2 separate regions of the Homo sapiens genome follow, and region 1 is linked to region 2. Evidence: promoter capture Hi-C in 16 types of primary human blood cells and fetal thymus (Javierre and others, 2016). All regions are on one chromosome and are shown on one strand. Each heading gives the region's core, a stretch centred on a gene start or on the middle of the fragment in contact. The rest is flanking DNA. Distances are from core to core; before and after follow the strand shown.

What was found. Contacts are between HindIII fragments. The CHiCAGO score rates a contact against its expected background, and 5 or more counts as called.
Region 1: a contact is called between a fragment that was not itself captured here and the fragment with the promoter of SLC25A45 in region 2, in 1 of 17 cell types (neutrophils). The highest score is 5.3, in neutrophils.

Annotation. Positions count from the first base shown.
Region 1 is chr11:65,562,494-65,567,684 of GRCh38, reverse strand. No RefSeq gene overlaps it. Among named protein-coding and RNA genes, the nearest start is that of ZNRD2-DT, 5.3 kb to the left of the region's middle. The HindIII fragment of the contact is 1,956 bases long and covers 573-2,528 here.
Region 2 is chr11:65,380,929-65,386,256 of GRCh38, reverse strand. It overlaps SLC25A45 (solute carrier family 25 member 45), which reads left to right and starts at 3,611. Exons shown (of 7, transcript NM_182556.4): 1 at 3,611-3,771; 2 at 4,288-4,342. The coding sequence starts at 4,306. It also overlaps a transcript of FRMD8 not described here. RefSeq lists a silencer at 2,185-2,479 and enhancers at 2,391-2,917, 3,246-3,445, 3,456-3,765, 3,665-3,959, 3,446-3,973 and 4 more. The HindIII fragment of the contact is 16,084 bases long and covers 1-5,328 here.

The sequences.
Region 1 (5,191 bases), core at 301-2,800, 180 kb before region 2:
GATTACAGGCATGCGCCACCACAGCTGGCTAATTTTTTTTTTTTTTTTGAGACGGCATCTTGCTCTGTTGCCCAGGCTGGAGTGCAATGGTGCGATCTCGGCTCACTGCAAGCTCTGCCTCCTGGATTCACGCCATTCTCCTGCCTCAGCCTCCCAAGTAGCTGGGACTACAGGCACCTGCCACCACGCCCGATTAATTTTTTTTGCATTTTTAGTAGAGACAGGATTTCACTGTGTTAGCCACGATGGTCTCGATCTCCTGACCTCGTGATCTGCCCGTCTCGGCCTCCCAAAGTGCTGGGATTATAGGCATGAGCCACCGCGCCCAGCCAATTTTTTAAATTTTTATTTCTAGTAGAGACGGTGTTTCACCATGTTGGCCAGACTAGTCTCAAGCTCCCGACTTCAGGTGATCTGCCCACCTCAGCCTCCCAAAGTGGTAGGATTACAGGCCTGAGCCACCGCGCCAGCTTCAAAGATGTTTATCTAGGGAACAGCTATGGAAGATGGAGATAGTGTCTCCCTCCAGAGCAAAGGACAGCCATGCTTACTGGCTTTGAGTTTCCTAAGCTTAGGGTCCTCTCCCACAATGTAATTCGCTCTGTGTGCCCACACTTGCCTGAGCCCATCAGCATCACCCCCATGGGACTTAGGGTCAAAAGGAACTAACGGAAATATGCTGGTGCTCATGCTGTTTGCTGCACAGCGATCAAGTCCTTTGTCTCTGACCCAGGACTCTCCTGTATTCTGCCAGCATTCTTGAACCTGACGGGCTACCTTGGTAGCTTGCAAGTGGGTAAGATCTCAGATGCTTCACAGTCCTTGACATAGAAGGTGCTCACAGGTGTTGGTGGTAAAACCTATTCGCAGCAGTCACAGTGGACAGGCCAGTGTCTGTGGAGCAATGGGCTTGGGCTCTTTCACACCCTTCCCTTGCCGACAATATATCACACCTTCAGCCAGGCATGGTGGCTCACAACTTTAATCCCAGCACTTTGGGAGGTCAAGACTGGCAGATCACTTGAGGTCAGGAGTTCGAGACCAGCCTGGCCAACATAGTGAAACCCCATCTCTACTAAAAATACAAAAACTAGCTGGGCATGGTGGTGCGAGCCTGTAGTTCCAGCTACTCATGAGGCTGAGACGGGAATTGCTTGAACTGGGAGGCGGAGGTTGCAGTGAGTGGAGATCCTGCCACTGCACTCCAGCCTGGGCAACAGAGCATGGAGTCAGGGAAGAGAAAGGAGGGAAAGGAGGAGGGGGAGGGGGAGGGAAGGGAATCACAGTTTCATGTGAGCCAGTCCAAATTGGTCCCTCCTTGTGGCACTGATGACATGGCTGTAGTTAGGCTCTTTTCTGGGTGATAGAGCACCCCACAGCAGCTCAGTCATGCACAGCTCAATTACAGCTCCCCCTGGGCTGGCTGATTTGGTGGGGATGGTTCACATGGCAACAAGTGGCCTATGCCATGTTGCCTGGCCTCTGAAAAACGTAACTTATCATTTGTATTTTCACACAGGCACTGAAAAGGGGTCAGCTATTCTTTTTTTTTTTTTTTTTTTTTTGGTTTTCACTGCAATGTGAATCACCTTGACATTTCTGTGAAACAGGAAGTGGCTGGATGATACAACAATAAAAATAATCACACTCAACTTGGTGTGTGTGTTTTCTTTGGGCCAGGCACTGTGTTAAGAGCTCTTTATGAAGTATTTCGCTTATTCCTTAGGACAACACTGGCAGCTAGGTCTTATCATCATTCCCAATTTGCAAATGAGGAGGCTGAGGCCTGGAGTAGTGAGAGATGTATCCACAGTCACCCAGTTGGGAGTGGCAGGGCTGGGGCTCCCGGCTGGCAGCCAGTGTACCTCTTGAGCCTGAGCTCTTACCAGTAGATTTCTCCCGTGCTCAAAAGGCGGGGAAGAGTGGCAGGGCAGAAGGGCCCCCTGATTTATCAAGCGTGAAGGTAGTTTCATCTCATTTCCAATCCCAACTCTCAGTGTCCATCGTTTTACTACCCACAGTAAGTGGCACATTAGAGGGGTTTAATAGCCACTTTCAGTAAAGTGTCTTTGGAGAGAAATGCTTTAGGGCAACCTTGTCCCCTCCAGGCCTTCATCACTTCCATCCCTCATCTTTAAAGCTGATGAGCAAGGCCGGGCGCAGTGGTTCATGCCTGTAATCCCACACTTTGGGAGGCCGAGGCGGGCAGATCACCTGAGGCCAGGAGTTCGAGATCAGCCTGACCAACATGGTGAAACCTCATCTCTACTAAAAATACAAAAATCAGTTGGGAGTGGTGGTGGTGGCTGCCTGTAATCCCAGCTACTCAGGAAGCCGTGACACAAGAATCGATTGAACCCAGGAAGTGGAGGCTGCAGTGAGCTGAGATTGTGCCACTGCACTCCAGCCTGGCAACAGAGTGAGACTCTGTCTCAAAAAAAAAATAAAACTGATGAGTGTGACCCCCTTCCCTTCTACCCACCCACCCCCTCGCCAAGAGCCATTTCTTTCTTCAGAGCCCAGAAGCTTCCCAAAGACATTCAGAACTCAGAGGGACAACACATGGAGGCGGCACAGCCTCTGACACACAGTCAGCCCTCGTGGCACGGTGGCTCTCCACCAGCAGCCCGTCTCTCACCACCCTGCCCATCTTGGCTTGCAGATCCAGACAATGATGAAAAGGTCTCACATATCCTGAGTGCTTACTATTTGGCAGGCATCTGCTAAGGGCTTCATAAATATCAGCCCACTGATTCCCTGCTTATTTTTATTTTTATTTTTATTTTTGAGACAGAGTCTCATTCTGTCGCCCAGGCTGGAGTGCAGTGGCACGATCTCGGTTCACTGCAACCTCTACCTCCTGAGTAGCTGGGATTACAGGCGTGTACCACCACATCCAGCCAATTTTTGTATTTTTGGCAGATGGAGTTTCACCATGTTGGCCAGGCTAGTCTCGAACTCCTGACCTCAAGTGATCCACCCACCTCGGCCTCCCAAAGTGCTGGGATTACAGGTGTGAGCTACCACACCCGGACTTCCCTGTTAATTTTTTTTTTTTTTTTTGGTGGGGGGGAACGGGGTCTTGCTCTGTTGCCAGGCTGGAGTGCAGTGGCGCAATCTCGGCTCACTGCAACCTCTGCTTCCTGGGTTCAAGCAATTCTCCTGCCTCAGCCTCCTGAGGACTAAGACGCGCACCACCACGTCTGGCTAATTTTTGCATTTTTAGTAGAAATGGGGTTTCACCATGTTGGCCAGGATGGTCTCAATCTCCTGACCTTGTGATCCATCCACCTCGGCCTCCCAAAGTGCTCGGATTACAGGCGTGAGCCACCGTGCCCGGCCTTTTTTTTTTTTTTTTTTTTTTGAGACAGAGTCCCACTCTGTCACCCAGGCTGGAGTGCAGTGGCGCCATCTCGGCTCACTGCAGCCTCTGCCTCCTGGGTTCAAGCGATTCTTGTGCCTCAGCCTCCCAAGCAGCTGGAATACAGGTGTGCGCCACCACACCCAGCTAATGTTTTGTATTTTTAGCAGAGACAGGGTTTCGCCATGTTGGCCAGGCCGGTCTCGAACTCCTGGCCTCAAGCAATCTGCTCACCTCGGTCTCCCAAAGTGCTGAGATTACAGGCATGAGTCACTGAGACTGGCCTCATTCCCTGTTTAAAAATGAGGAAAGCCAGGTGCAGGGTTGTGTGCCTGTAATCACAGCTACTCAGGAGGCTGAGCGGGAAGGATCACTTGAGGCCAGGAGTTTGACTCTATATTGACGGAGCAATATACAGAGACTGTCTCTAAAAAAAAGGAAGGGTAGGGGGTTGAGGACTGAGGCACAGAGAAGTTGAAGAATTTTCCCAATTCACTTAGCTGGTGCATGACACAGCCAGTATGATCTAATGCTAGAAAACAACCACTGCAATGCGGCCTCCTGAGACAGAACTTTCATCATGCAGCTGCTGTCACCCTGTCCAGCCAATCCCTTAACATGGCATCAGGAGCCCTGAGTTCAGGTTCTGGCTCTGCTGATGGCTGGCTGTGTAACCTTCGTCAAGTCCCATATCTTCTCTGGGCTTCAAGAACCCAAGAACCTCAAGAACATTTGACTAGCCCGAACATTCCCTGGGCCTGGGTCCTATTCCTCCTCCTTGTCCCATTCCAGCAAAGCCCCTCATTGCCCTCAGGGTCCTACCCACCTATCTTCAGGACATTTGTGAGCAAATGTCAGGGCTCCTGATGCCTTCAGGACACCTCTCATTCCTCTCCCCAGGATCATTGTATATATAGGTTCTGGATCAGGCAGGCTTGGGTTCAATCACCAGGTGACCTGAGTCCAGTTGGTTTGTTTGTTTGTTTTTGTTTTTTGAGACAGAGTCTCTGTCTGTCACCGAGGCTGGAGTGCAGTGGCGCTATCTCGGCTCACTGCAAGCTCCGCCTCCCGGGTTCATGCCATTCTCCTGCCTCAGCCTCCCGAGTAGCTGGGACTACAGGCGCCCGCCAACATGCCCGGCTAATTTTTTTTTTTTTTTTTTTTTTTTTTTTTTAGTAGAGATGGGGTTTCACCGTATTAGCCAGGATAGTCTCTATCTTCTGACCTCGTGATTCGCCTGCCTCGGCCTCCCAAAGTGCTGCAATTACATGCATGAGCCACCGCGCCCAGCTGAGTCTAGTCATTTCATCTTTCAGAGTCTTGGTTTTCCCTTTGCAGGGTCACTGGGAGGATGACGTGACCCCACAGTGTAAAGTGCATGGTAGATGGCAGGCACTCTTGTGGCCTCTCTGTGCAGTCAATCAACAAACTTCGGCACCCTATCTGTGCCAAGCCTTGTTCTGGGATCTGGAGACAAGGTTGTCCCTCCCTGAGAGGGTGGTAAGCTGGACAATAAGCAAGTCAACAAATCCACAAAGAATGCTTCAGATTTTGTGGAATACCAGGGAAAAACACAGGTGATATGACCCAGAGGGCTAGGGATGGCTATTTCATTTTTTTAAATTTTTTAATTTTTATTTTATTTATGTTTGAGACACAGTCTTGCTCTATCACTGAGGCAGGAGTGCAGTGCTGTGATCTCAGCTCACTGCAGCCTCCGCTTCCCGGGTTCAAGTGATTCTCCTGCCTCAGCCTCCCAAGTAGCTGGGATTACAGGCGCCCGCCACCAAGCCCAGCTAATTTTTGTATTTTTAATAGAGATAGGTTTTC
Region 2 (5,328 bases), core at 2,362-4,861:
GGCAGTGGTCAGGAGAATGAGTCCTGGCCCAGACTCATCCTGGACAAGTCCCTTCTCCTCTGGGCCTCAGTTTTCCTCATCTGTAAAATGAGGTGGTTGAACTGAATGACCCCCAAGGACTATCCCTACTCTCTAAATGATTATTAATATATGTCTATGTCGGCCGGGCGCGGTGGCTCACGCCTGTAATCCCAGCACTTTGGGAGGCCGAGGCGGGCGGATCACGAGGTCAGGAGATCCAGACCATCCTGGCTAACACGATGAAACCCCGTCTCTACTAAAAATACAAAAAATTAGCCGGGCGAGGTGGCGGGCGCCTGTAGTCCCAGCTACGCGGGAAGGCTGAGGCAGGAGAATGGTGTGAACCCCAGGGGGCGGAGCCTGCAGTGAGCCGAGATCACACCACTGCACTCTAGCCTGGGCGACGGCGAGACTCCGTCTGAAAAAAAAAAAAAATTTATATATATATGTCTAAATCAGAAAACCAGGACAGACACTCTGTTTTTCCAGGGAGCAGTGACATGAGCCCTTACTATCTTACACAACAGCCTGGGAGACCTTGAGGTTTTCCCAGGCTGGGAGGAGACTTGGGGCCCCAAAGAGGCAGGTGTGAAACCACCTACCCTCAGGGCCATGTCACTGACATGTCCTGGTAATGCAACATGTGTGCATCTGAGATGTGGAACTCAGGGAGAAAAATAAGTCCATGGGGCACCTTCTGGGGCCAGAGGAACCAGAAGTTGTCCCAAGTGACAGCAGTGGGCTTGGTGATCAGGAACAGAGGGCAGTGGGTTCACTTTGCCCTGGTTCCCTGGGATTGGAAAGCAGCTCTAGCTCCTGACCCAGTCCAGCCTTCTTTGGTATGTGAACCAGCTCTGCCTGCCCTCCTATGATCCACACTGCCCCACAGCTGAGCCCATGACATCACATTTGCCTTGCCAATGTGACTTAAGGACTTGAGGAAGCTCAGATGTGGGCTGCAGGGAAGGGTGTCCAGTGGGGGCAGGCATCTCCTTCCTGGTTCTCAGCTCTGGGACCCTCAGACCAGGACACACTGTATCTCCATGGCCTCTTGACCCAGCTGGAGTGAAGCAGGAGCAGAAGAGTTCAGTGTTGTTTTGAATGCTTACTGGATGCGGGGCTTGTGCTAGGTCAGGGGATGGAGACTGAGGGGAGACGTGGCCCTGCCCTCAGAAAGTGTCTGTTGTGGTTTAATTGGTGAGTTAAGGAAGAGGGGAAAGAGAAAGAAGCCCAGGAGAACAGCACATTTAAAACCACAGCACTTTGGGAGGCCGAGGCAGGAGGATCGCCTGAGGCCAGGAGTTCAAGACCAGCCTGGGGAACATAGTGAGACGCCATCTGTAAAAAACCCAAAAATTAGCCAGGTGTGGTGGCACACATCTGTGGTCCTAGCCATTCAGGAGCCTGAGGTGGGAGGATCGCTGGAGCCCAGGAGTGTGAGCTCACAGTGAGCTCTGATAGCGCCATCCTGCCACTGTATTCCAGCCTGGACAACAGTGAGACTCTGTCTCCAAAAAAATAAATAAAACCACAGAAGATGACAGCATTGCCTTAAGAACTATGAAATGCTACAGGCAGGAAAAGTCTCTGCTCACTTGCTGTGTGTGGGGCACTGGGCCAGGCCCTTTCCCCTGTTTCCTGTGTCATTCTCATGCGTCCTGAGAGTGGAAATAAGTATTAGCAGTTGCCATTTACGTGCCAGCCACTTTTTAAAGTGCTTTAATCCTTAGAACTCACTAAGAGGTGAGTATCACATCTCTGTTTTATGTCAAAGACTGACACCTGGGAGTGTCTGCGGTGGTGGTGGGGAGGCTAGAACCCGGGTCTAGTCAAGGAGGGGCACTGGGAGAGAGTCCGGGAGGCTGATGGTGGGGAAGGAAAGGCATTCCAGGTAGTGGGAACTGCACGAGCATGGTTAGGACCCCAGGAAAGACCCCCGCTGTGTGAGAGCATAGCAGGTGGGTGGCACCATGGGGGAGGCCTTGAACCCCAGGATGACAGATATGGGGCAGGCGTGTTAGACAGTAAGAACATTTTGGAGGTTGTGAGCTAGAGATTCACAAGATGACGCCATGCTTAGGTGGGCTTCCCTTCAGCAAGGCTGTAGGGAAGTGGGAATGAGGGTCTTTCTCAAACTGGGGTGAGGCGGTGAGATTGGAAAAGAGAATGAGACCCATTCTGAAGTGAGGGAGGAGGCGGCCTCCAGCCTTTAGAGCTGAGAGGCTTAGACATCAATTAGCCCGACTGCTGTCCTACTTTGGCAAACAATAATAGACCCCAAGGCCCACAGAAGAGGTTGCTCAACATCACTGAGAGAGATAATGTAACCGCCCATTGGGTTCACCTTACCCTCTGCCTAGACAGAGCCAATTTGTCAAGACAGGGGAATTGCAATAAGGAGAGTTTAATTCATGCAGAGCTGGCTGTACGAGAGACAGGAGGGTTTTTTTTTTGTTTGTTTGTTTGTTTTTTTTTTTTGAGACGGAGTCTCGCTCTGTTGCCCAGGCTGGAGTATAGTGGCATGATCTTGGCTCACTGCAACAGCTGCCTCTCGGGTTCAAGCGATTCTCCTGCCTCAGCATCCCAAGTAGCTGGGACTACAGGCGCCCGTCATCACACCCGGCTAATTTTTGTATTTTTGGTAGAGATGGGGTTTCACTATGTTGGTCAGGCTGGTCTCGAACTCCTGACCTCAGGTGGTCCTTCCGCCTCGGCCTCCCAAAGTGCTGGGATTACAGGCGTGAGCCACTGCGCCTGGCCTGTATCAGTTATAGTTTTTGCAAAGGCAGTTTCAGGAATAAGAAGCAGAACCAGGACTGCAGCCCAAGCCACCACGAGAGGCCAGTCTTTGGGGATGGTCTTTTAGGATGATCTTTGGGGGTGGCCCAAGGAGCCCCAGGCAGCTCCAGAGGCAGGAGGTAGGAGGTCCTGTTTCCCGAATCTGTCCACCCGGGAGAAAGCAGCAGGGGTGGGTGGGTTCTGCCTTGGCCACAGTGAGAGGAGAAGGGAGAGAAGGACTGGGCCTTGGGCGTCCCCCATGGGAGACTAGGAGCTGCGGGGAGATCTGGAGGGGAGGGTGCAGGTGTCACTGGGCCTTGATGTTTCCCAGGGCCGTTTGGTGATGGGAAGAGGGAACTGGAGCCCCAGGCTGCCGCTGATGCTGCTGGCTGACATTTCCGTTCATTCAGTCACTCAGGATTTATTGAGAGCCCACCCTGTGCCACCCGCTGTGCACAGAACACCCAGAGATCCCTGTCCAGACAGACAAGTTCTTCCCATCGTATGTTGGCGTGATAACTGTGATGGAGAAAGAGAGGAAGAGCCAGCAGTGCCTCCGGCTGGGGAGGCGGGGCAGACCTCACCCAGGTGGTGACATTTGAGCCCCAGCTGGAGGGGTGCCAGGGCAAGAGTGCCCAGGAAGAGGGAAGAGCCAGTCCACAGGCCTGGAGACAGAAGGCTGACTGAAGAAGAGTCTGGAGGCTCGGGTGGCTGCAGCAGAGAAAGCAAGGGGGTGGGTGGCAGGACGTGAGGTCAGAGGAGAATGGGCGGCACCCTGTGGCTCACAGATCCTTGAAAGGGTTTTGGTTTTGACTGAGCAGAATGGTGCCATTGCAGATCAACACGCACTTTAAATAATCAAAACCCCTATCTTTCCCCTGGGAAGGAGGAAGCCGAGGAAGGCTGTGTTTCTGACTCACACGGGGGAGTCGGGGGAGTCGTAAACAACCCTGAAGAGAACAGCCAGGCCTGGTGAGTCACTCCTGGGAGTGGCTCCTCCCCACCCTGCCACGCAGCGGCAAATGCGGGCTGGGCCTACCCCCTGGTGGCCACGCTACCTCCGCACCCGGCCTCTCTCTGTGGCATGGGGGCGGCCATGCCCCTTGGTGGAGATGAATGGGAGTGGAGCTGGGCTGGCTGGGCAGGCAGGGGCTTGCCTCTTGCTGACTAAGGCAGCCCTGGAGGGGCCCGACCATGGGGCAGGAACCCAGTTGCCATCCTCAGAGCGAGGATCATTGGCCGGGCTCGGGGATCAGGGCCTCTGTGGTCCCGGCACGCCTGGCCCGTGAGACTGTACTCTGCACGACTCCTCCAGGTGGCCAGGGTCACCGGAACTGGCTCGCTCTCCTCTGCCAGTTGCCGGAGGTCTGGGCACCAGGCCAATTCTCACCTTCCCGCCAGGGTTAAACATTAGTGGGAGGTTATCAGCGTGGGCCAGGGGAGGGAGAGGGGGGAATTCAACTCTGTCTCCTCTGCTGGAGCCACCAGTTCCCGCAAGCCCAGACAATGCCGGTGGAGGAATTTGTGGCTGGCTGGATCTCTGGTGAGACATTTTTCTTCCTTCTGTCACATCACACCCAATGGTAGGTCACTTCCTCGGGAAGATGGGTGACATGGGAGGAGCAGAGACCAAAGTCTGAGTTCCGGCCTGGCGGGAGGATCACTTGAGCCCAGGAGTTTGAGACCAGTCTGGGCAACATAGGGAGGCCCCTGTCTCTACAAAAAAATCAAAATAATTAGCTGGGCATGGTGGCTCACACCTGTAGTCCCAGCTACTTAGGAGGATTGCTTGAGCTCAGGAGTTCAAGGCTGCAGTGAGCTATGACTGCACCACTGCACTCCAGCCTGGGTGACAGAATGAGACCCTGCCACAAAAAAAAAAAAAAAAAAAAAAAAAGAATCAGGGCATGGTGGCTCACACCTGTAATCCCAGCACTTTGCGAGGCTGAGGTAGGAGGATCACTTGGGGCCAGGAGTTTGAGACCAGCCTGGGCAACATAGGAAGACCCTGTCTTTATAAGAAATGAGAGGCTGGGCGCGGTGGCTCATGCCTGTAAGCCCAGCACTTTGGGAGGCTGAGGTAGGTGGATCATGAGGTCAAGATTTCGAGACCAGGCTGGCCAACATGGTGAAACCCCGTCTCTACTAAAAATACAAAAATTAGCCAGGCGCGGTGGCGCACGCCTGTGGTCCCAACTACTCCAGAGGCTGAGGTGGAAGGAGCCCTTAAGCTCAGGAGGTTGAAGCTGCAATGAGCCATGATCATGCCACTGCACTCCAGCCTGGACAACACCAGCAAGACCCTGTGTCAAAAAAAAAAAGTCTGGGTTCCGTGGAGCACCCCAGAGCCAGCTGTCCCCAGTCCTCTGGGGAGTGGCCGATGGGAAGAAGAGAGGAAGGCACAGGTGGGAGGGTGCTGCCTCTGCCTTCCAAGGCCACTCTGCCTGACACCTGCAGAGGGCGGGAGAGCCAGGTGAGCACCCTATACCTTGAGCCCTGCTCTCCAGGCCCACCCTGTTGGGCTTACAA